Regions from separate parts of the Homo sapiens genome. Here all the other regions are linked to region 2. The links are contacts of gene promoters, found by promoter capture Hi-C in human tissues and cell types (Jung and others, 2019). All regions are on one chromosome and are shown on one strand. The core of a region is centred on a gene start or on the middle of the fragment in contact, and the rest is flanking DNA. Distances in the headings are between cores, read along the strand shown.

What was found. The method cuts DNA at HindIII sites, captures the fragments that hold promoters and counts their contacts. A contact is called where the count stands out against the background at its distance.
Region 1: a fragment that was not itself captured here is called in contact with the fragment with the promoter of FNDC9 in region 2 in 1 of the 25 tissues and cell types used here (hippocampus).
Region 3: a contact is called between a fragment that was not itself captured here and the fragment with the promoter of FNDC9 in region 2, in 1 of the 25 tissues and cell types used here (hippocampus).

What each region holds. Positions count from the first base shown.
Region 1 is chr5:157,289,346-157,292,045 of GRCh38, forward strand. All of the region lies in intron 3 of CYFIP2 (cytoplasmic FMR1 interacting protein 2), which reads left to right. Among named protein-coding and RNA genes, the nearest start is that of CYFIP2, 25 kb to the left of the region's middle. RefSeq lists a silencer at 2,318-2,367. The HindIII fragment of the contact is 6,760 bases long and covers 1-2,700 here.
Region 2 is chr5:157,344,410-157,347,109 of GRCh38, forward strand. FNDC9 (fibronectin type III domain containing 9) reads right to left here and starts at 1,268. Exons shown (of 2, transcript NM_001001343.4): 1 at 1,132-1,268. The region is part of intron 23 of CYFIP2 (cytoplasmic FMR1 interacting protein 2); the gene reads left to right. The HindIII fragment of the contact is 6,264 bases long and covers 1-2,700 here.
Region 3 is chr5:157,394,299-157,396,998 of GRCh38, forward strand. CYFIP2 (cytoplasmic FMR1 interacting protein 2) reads left to right here. Exons shown (of 31, transcript NM_001037333.3): 31 at 1-1,296. The region is part of intron 1 of NIPAL4-DT (NIPAL4 divergent transcript); the gene reads right to left. Among named protein-coding and RNA genes, the nearest start is that of FNDC9, 50 kb to the left of the region's middle. The HindIII fragment of the contact is 4,768 bases long and covers 1-2,700 here.

The sequences.
Region 1 (2,700 bases), core at 39-2,538, 55 kb before region 2:
AGATTCCCTACAAATAAAGGGTCGGGGCATAGAGGGTGTATTCGTTGGCTTGGATACCTTAACAAAGTGCCACAGACTAAATGGCTTAAACAGCAAAAATGTATTTCCTCCCCGTTCCGGAGATTAGAAGTCCAAGATCAAGGTGTCTGTAGGTTCGGTTTTTCCTCAGACTTTTTTCCTTGGCTCCCAGATGGCTGTTTCTCTCTGCATCCTCACATGGTCTCTTCTCTGTGTGCACACATCTCTGGCACCTTCTTTCTGTGTGTCCAGATTTCCTCTTTTTATAAGGACACCAGTCAGATTAGATCAGGGCCCTCTCTAATGGCCTCATTTTAACTTAATTACCTCTTTAAAGGCCCCGTCTCCAAATACAGTCACATTCTGAGGTCCTGTGGGGTTAGGGCTTCAACCTATAAATTTGGGGGGCACACAATTCAGCCCATAACAGAAGGCTTTAGTTTATTTAATAAAAAATTAAAAACAATGGAAAAATCTTTATCCTTAAAAGAGATATGAACAGAACGCAGCTTGGGGGACAGATTCCATGTGTTAGTCATATGTAGAATGAGTTGCAAGTAGGAATGAGGCAAATAAATTAGTCAAGATAATTAAAGTTATCTACACTGCAGGCATTCAAGGCTGAATGAGGGTGATGGCACTGGGGTACAGCTAAGAGGATATGGATGTGAGGGACACTGGCTTAGCAGTCACCTGGGACTGCACTGACTGAGTTCCCAGGAAGACCAGGTCAAGACACCAACAGAGCAGTCGGAAGGAGGGGTTAGGTTGGAGAGTGATAGTGTTCATTTTCTGTTACTGCCCTAATAGAGTGTCACAAACTTAGTGGCTTAGAAGAACACTGATTTATTTGCTTATAGTTTTGTAGGTCAGAAGTCTGACGTGGGTCTTACTGAGTTAAAATCAGGGTGCCAGCAGGGCCGCATTCCTTCTGCAGGCTCCAGGAGAAAGTCTGTTCCCTTGCCTTTTCCAGCTTCTAGAGGTGTCTACATTCCTTGACTCGTGGCCCCCAGCCAGCAGTGACATCACTCTGATCTCTGCCTGCATCTTCAAATCTCCTTCTCTGACTCTTCTGCCTCCCTCTTTTGCTTATGAGTACCTTGTGTTTACACTGGGCTCCCCAGGATAATCCAGAACAACCACCACCACCCGCCTACCCCCATTGCAAGGCTCTTAATTGGTCACATCAGCAAATTGCCTCTTTCCATGTGAAGGAACATATTCACAGGCACCAGGGATTAGGATACAGACATCTTGGGGGGACCATTATTCTGCCTACACAGGGAGAGTGTTGATGTGGCTTAGGCATGAGTCATGAGTGGCATGCAATGCTGACATTCCTGGATAACACCAAAATCTCCCTTCAGTCAACAGTGTCTTCCTCGTGCCTTCCCCAGTCTTTCTAAGGTAGCTTATTAGCAGCAATGTGGGTGTATGAGATGCTCATCTTCTTGTATGTCTCCTGTCCCCACTTGGGCAAGGTGAATCTCTCAAAGGACAGGATAGCCAGAGAAAAGAGGAGGAGGGGAAGTACGTAAACCACATAACTGACCAACTATATGGAAGAGTTGAGGGTTCTTTGCTGGGGTGAGATGGGGGCTGAGTGATCACTGGATCTGTCACTACATAAAATTTGAGCTACACTCACATTGGGTTTAAGTCATGGACTTTCAGAATATTAGAAATGTAAAGGACCTTAGAGATCCTTAGTCCTGAAGCTGTCAATGTGGGCTGCACAAGAGAATCAACCTGGGGATTGTTTAAAAACACCAGTGCCCCACCCCATCCCCAGGGATAAATATTTAGTTAATCTGGGGCATGGCTTAGGCATCAAATTCCCCAGGTGACTCTAATATACAACAAGGGTTGAACACGAATGATTCAGGCCAACTCTTTACCTCCAAGTAAGGAAACTAAGACATTACAAGTTAAAAGGTGGGCCCAAGAAGAGTGAGGACCAGAACTCAAGTTTCCCAAGACCCCACCCAGGGCTCTTTCCACTGCACCATCCTAACCTCTACATTCTAGCATAATTGCATGACAGATCTGGCTGATGGCCAAACTGTCCGTAGGGCAGAGTTCACATTCTTCTTGTTCACTGCGCTGTTTGCAGCACAAAGCACAGAGCCTGGGACCCATGAGTGCCCAGTTAAACATTCACTGAATGCATGAGTCGGAATTAACACCCGTCGGCAGGCAGGTTGGTGCTACAAGTAGACACGTGTTCCTTACGTGACTGTCACTTCCCCTTTTGGACATGTGTTCTGAGGCAGATGACTGCGGGACCCACGGGCTTGATTGGTTCTCCCTGTTCTCAAGGACAACATGTTACTGATTTTTAAAGTTCTCTAAATTAATCATTGAAGTGTGACTTGTCAATGACATTTGCTGCTGAAAACAGAACTGTCATAAGTAAATTGATCTGCTGTTATACTAATAAGATATTATGAAATGGTGGTATGTGGATTTAAAAATAAAGTTCATTTTTTAATATAGATATAAACATTTATAAAAAGAGATGGCCTAGTAAAATTCTTTCTTTGGTGATTTTTTTTTCAAAGTGTATTTCCATTTGAAGTGTACAATTCAGTAGTTTTCAGCATATTCACAATGTTATACAGCCATGGCTACTACCTAACTTTCATCACCCCTAAAAGATGCCCTGGACCTGTTAGTAGTCAA
Region 2 (2,700 bases), core at 18-2,517:
GTAGAAAAAGGACTTAGTGCCGCCTAACCACTACATTTCCTAATGCAAGGCTGCCGGGTTTAGTTACAGACGTTATCGCAAAATGAGGTGCCAGGACTGAGACCCAGTTGCTGTTTTTCCAGACAAATCAAATGAGCCCTCTTTAGATTGCCAGGCCCCGCTTTGATAAGAGAGAGCCATCTTCAAGTATTTTAGTTTCTCTCATGCAGTTCCCTCTACTGATTGCCCCTGATCAGAAATACAGAGACAGTCATAGTCAGCCTACGCATATTCACATAACAGTCTCACCCTGCTTTGTCTTCCGCCTCTCCTCCCTCACATGAAACCCCGTAGGTTTCATTTTGGGTTGCAGTGACATAGTAAACAGCTGTCAACTGGATTTTCGCCTGCATTGGATATTAAGCCAAACCAATGGCTATTATGACCTGCCTTTCTCTCACCTCTGCTTTCCCCCATCCTCTTGTGTTTGTGCCCATTTTCCTCCAGGAGTGGAGCTGCAGAAAGGTGCACAGCATTGAGTAGTTTCTTAATCCTTGTTTTTCTTCTGTAAGGGTAACAGTGAACTAAGATACTCAGGAAGGTGAATAGTGTCTTTCTATGTGGCTGAATATTTCTTCCCAGTAAATAGGGAACGAAAGGGATGAGACGGATGTGCTCAGACCCTTCCAGGGAAGGTCATCATGAAGGAGACCGAATGTTTATGTTTCCTAGCTTGGTGTCCTCTACACACTCATCCTCCCCACACCACACATCACTATAAATACACTTTCGACCACGATGAAAAGAGCTTAATTCATTATAGGCAGCCACCTGTGTAAAACCTTTCCATCAGGAGTAATCAGGAATCCTGTTTCTTGTCACGCACAAATGTTCTCTTGGCTTCCTATCTGCCACTAGCTGTCTGTACAGATGGAATTACCTCAGCAGACATTTTTAAGAGCTTTCTGTCAAGACGCAAATAGCATCCTCACCTTTTAGGACCAGGTCCGTCTCCCTTATTGATTTTTCTTCCTCTGTTTCCGTTTCTAAATTCTCCCCTATTTTTAACTATTCATTTGCCCGGCCCTTCTCCAAGCAGAGTGTGAAAAGAAGCCATTTCCATTTCCAAGAAGAGCCATCTATATGTCTTACCTGATGCTTGCAGCGTGTCTGGTTAGAGCTCTGCCCTCCGAGGTGCAGTAGATTAAAGCTGAGAGAATGGGGCCTTCTCCCTCCTCTGCTCTGGGCTTTCCGTGTTGTTTCTCTCAACACTGAGTAATCCCACTGCCGCCCCTAATGCTCACATTATTCATTTCTTCAGATCAGCATCATTCACCATGGCAACCAGCAGGCATCTGTACGCACGATGCTTTCAGGGACCAGCCTGGAAAGGCTTTTGCCCAGTGAGAGGAGCTCTCATTCCTTTGGCTGAAAAAGGGCAGATGATCCCCTGAAAACTGGTCCCCAGTGCAGTACTAATTCTTCTAACACTCCTACATTTTCTCCCCAGTTGGCTGATTATTATTTTCTTGTCCCATCTAGATCCTCTTTGGCCAATGGTTTTAAATGCAAAGATGCTTTTCTCAGTTATTCCACAACCAAAGCAGTAATATTCATCTTCATCCCCTCCCACCCCTACACTTCCCCATCCCAACTGCCTACCCCACCTCTTTATCTTCATCTTTCTTTATTCTTGACTCATGTGCCATTACATAGTTATATGGTACTGGTCAAGACCCTTTTATTTTTATTGTCTGAGTCTCAGTTCCACCATCATCTGTAAAGCTGTGGGCTTGGGCTACATCAGGATGGCAGATCAGAAGGCAGAAGACCTGAGCCCTATCCCTGCACAGCCCTGAACCCCTGTCAAGCTTGCTAAACCATCATGGCACTCTCACTGGGTTGAATAATGCCCCCCCAAAATACATATCCATCCAGAACCTTAGGATGTGACCTGATTTAGAAATAGAGCCTTCGTAGATATAACTAGTTAAGGATCTCAAGATGAAATCTTCCTGGATTTAAGGGTGAGCCCTAAATCCAATGACTAATGTCTTTGTAAGAGAAAAGACAGAGAGACTCAAGGGGAAGAAGCCAAGGGAAAACAGAGGCAGAGAGTGGAAGGATGCTGCCATCAGCCAAGGAACACCGGGAGCCATCAGCAGCTGGGAAGGCAAGGAAACATTCTCCCCTAGAGCCTTGGAGAGGGCATGGTTCTGCGAGAGCCTTGATTTCAGGCTTCTGGTCTCCAGAACTGTGAGAGAATAAATTTCTGTCATGTTAAGCTGCCACATTTATGGTAATTTGTGATAGCAACCCTAGGAATCTAATGCAGCACTGCTTCCAGCTGGGTGCAGAAACAGCCCCAGAGTTCCTCTGAACACAAGCGTCCCAAGAAACTGCTTCCCAATCAATCAGTTGGAGTTGACGCCAGAAATGGAAACTGTTTGCTACTCCTGGATTGAATCATCCCCAGCGTTCCTTTCCTTTCAAGAATCCAGACTGCTTGCCTCCCCTTTTCTCATAAAGGGCCGTCTGGCTTTGAGGTTCCATCCCTTCCTGTTCCTTTCAACCTTGTAAGAACCCATTGCCACCATTCTATTGAGATCACAGGGTGTGTCTGGAATAGAGGGTGGAAAGTAGCTCAGATAGATGTAGACCTGAATAAATTTATACACATTATATGTTTTTAAAAGTCAGCTTTTCTCTTCTTGGTTCTTG
Region 3 (2,700 bases), core at 39-2,538, 50 kb after region 2:
ATGTCATTGTCAAAGGAAATCTGTGGCCCTGAGATTTTAAGAACATAAAATGTGACATTTGATATTTCTCCAGCCCAGGGAAGTAAGATGGTTAGCAATGGTTGCCTTAATCAAATGGTCCCATTTTTAACCCCAAAGGAAGTGCCCACAGCAAGAGGTTTGTGTGATGCACTTATGTCCTCCGGTGAGGAAAGGGGGCCACATATGAAAGGCCCCTTAGGTCAGATCCTGAGAGTAGCACATTTGAGTGCAGATTCCTGGGCCCCACCTCAAACCTACTAATTCTGAATCTCTGGGAATAGGGCCAGGAAATCTGCCCTTTCTACAAACTACCCAAGTTGTTCTGTTGCACATCAATGTTTGGGAACCACTGCTGTAAGGGAATCATTCTGGTCACCTTGAGCTTTGAGCTACCACTAAGCCATGAAAGAAAATACATCATACAGGGAAGAGAGAAGGGAGGAGGTTCCAAGTAGTAACTGGCAGATCCTCCTGTCTGGAGGTACCACCTTCTATTCTGGTTTCTGACTTTTCCTTCTTGATGACCATAGATGTGTTCCAGAGGCAAAAGAGACACATTATCCCAGATGGCAGAACATGCTTTCAAAACATATAAAATGTCAAAGTTCCAGATCCTTCTACATCTTTAGTCCTGTCTGAGGATGGTAGCTGGCTCTCTGTAGCTGATAGATGGCTAGAGTTCCATCCAAATCCTTGACCACGACTTCATGGAGATTTGAATAATCTATTTGATGAGATTTCTATTTCAATAACCCACCTCTCTCACCCCACATTCATATCCCTAAATTTGACCCTCTGGGCCGAGTCACATTACCTTCAGGAGACTTGATCCCAGTAGACTGAGGTCTTCCCTTTCAGCAGAAAGATTTCATTTCCCTGGCTTGCCAGTGGCACTGATTTCCGAACACCCAATGAGTTTAATATTCTTTCCTCCTTGGCATTACTGCCCCAGCCTCTTTTTATTTTTTTTGTGTGTGTCTAATAACCAGGAAAAAAATAAAGCTTAGGTTTTAAAAAGTTTTAAAAATAATCTGTTTCAGAAACTGTCAAATGTACCATATTTGTATTAAGAGTTGTTGGGAATTTTTGTACAATGAATTTACATTTATTTATGGTGACATATTTACGCTTGTGATCAAATAATGATGTTAAATTCTTAAATCATATTTGCTATGCAGCTGAAGATGATATTTTGATTTGTATTTTGGGGGTACCTGTGTTGAGTTGATAAACATTTCCATCTTCATTAAAACTGCTTCCAAACTAGTAAAACCAGCAACTTGGTCTTGATTCCTGGTTCTATTCTAATCCTCATTGACCTGTAGAAGGCCATATTAAAACTAATTACTAAGCAAACAACCTAAAACAGAATCAAAGAAAAATATAGGTTAATGCACAATAAACTAATGGCTTTGCTTGCTTTCCCACGTGGGGGATTACATCTTTAACAAATTGAGCCTCACATTTCACATAGCACAAGCTTTCCTAAAGGTCATCCACTAAGATGAGTCCTAGGGCTGTTTCCTCTTCTGTCAAGTTGGACAAGTTGATCTCTTCTAGCTCTGATATCCTGATTCTAGGTAATTTCCCACTGGTGCACTTTGAGGGGTCTACTTCACACACTCAAAGTCTTTCTCAACGTATGTCATCACCTCATAAAATTGCCATCACAAGGAGTCATATTTGAGCTAGTGTAGTGGGAGGGCTATTAGCTATTAGATGCTCAGTGAAAAAAGGGTTCCAAAGAAGATAAATTTGGGGAACACTTCATGATCTTTCCCTTCGAAGATCCATAAGACTCTGAGGAGTGCTGCAGAACCTTATCAGTCTAGATCAACACCCTATCTCCTAGATGGTTTTATTAGTCTGTTTTCACACGGGGATAAAGACATACCCAAGACTGGGAAGAAAGAGGTTTAATTGGACTTACAGTTGGACATGGCCAGGGAGGCCTCAGAATCATGGCAGGAGGGGAAAGGCACTTCTTACATGGCAGTAGCAAGAGAAAAACGAGGAAAAGGCTAAAGCGGAAACCCCTAATAAACCCATCAGATCTCATGAGACTTATTCACTATCATGAGAACAACATGGGAAAGACGGGTCCCCATGATTCAATTACCTCCCCCTGGGTCCCTCCCACAACACGTGGGAATTCTGGGAGATACAAGTTGAGATTCGGGTGGGGACACAGACAAGCCATATCCTTCTGCCCCTGGCCCCTCCAAATCTCATGTCCTCACCTTTCAAAACAAATCATGCCTTCCCAACAGTCCCCCAAAGTCTTAACTAATTTCAGCATTAACCCAAAAGTCCATTGTCCAAAGTCACATCTGAAACAAGACAAGTCCCTTCTGCCTACGAGTCTGTAAAATGAAAAGCAAGCTAGTTACTTCCTAAATACAATGGGGGTACAGGTATTGGGTAGATACAGCCATTCCAAATGGGAGAAATTGGCCAAAACACAGGGGTTACAGGCCCCATGCAAGTCAAAATCCAGCAGAGTGGTCAAATTTTAAAAATCCAAATTGAGCTCCTTTGACTCCAGGTCTCACATCCAGGTCACACTGATGCAAGAGGTGGGATCCCTGGTCTTGGGCAACTCCACCCCTGTAGCTTTGCAGGGTACAGCCTCCCTCCTGGCTGCTTTCATGGGCTGATATTGAGTGTCTACAGCTTTTC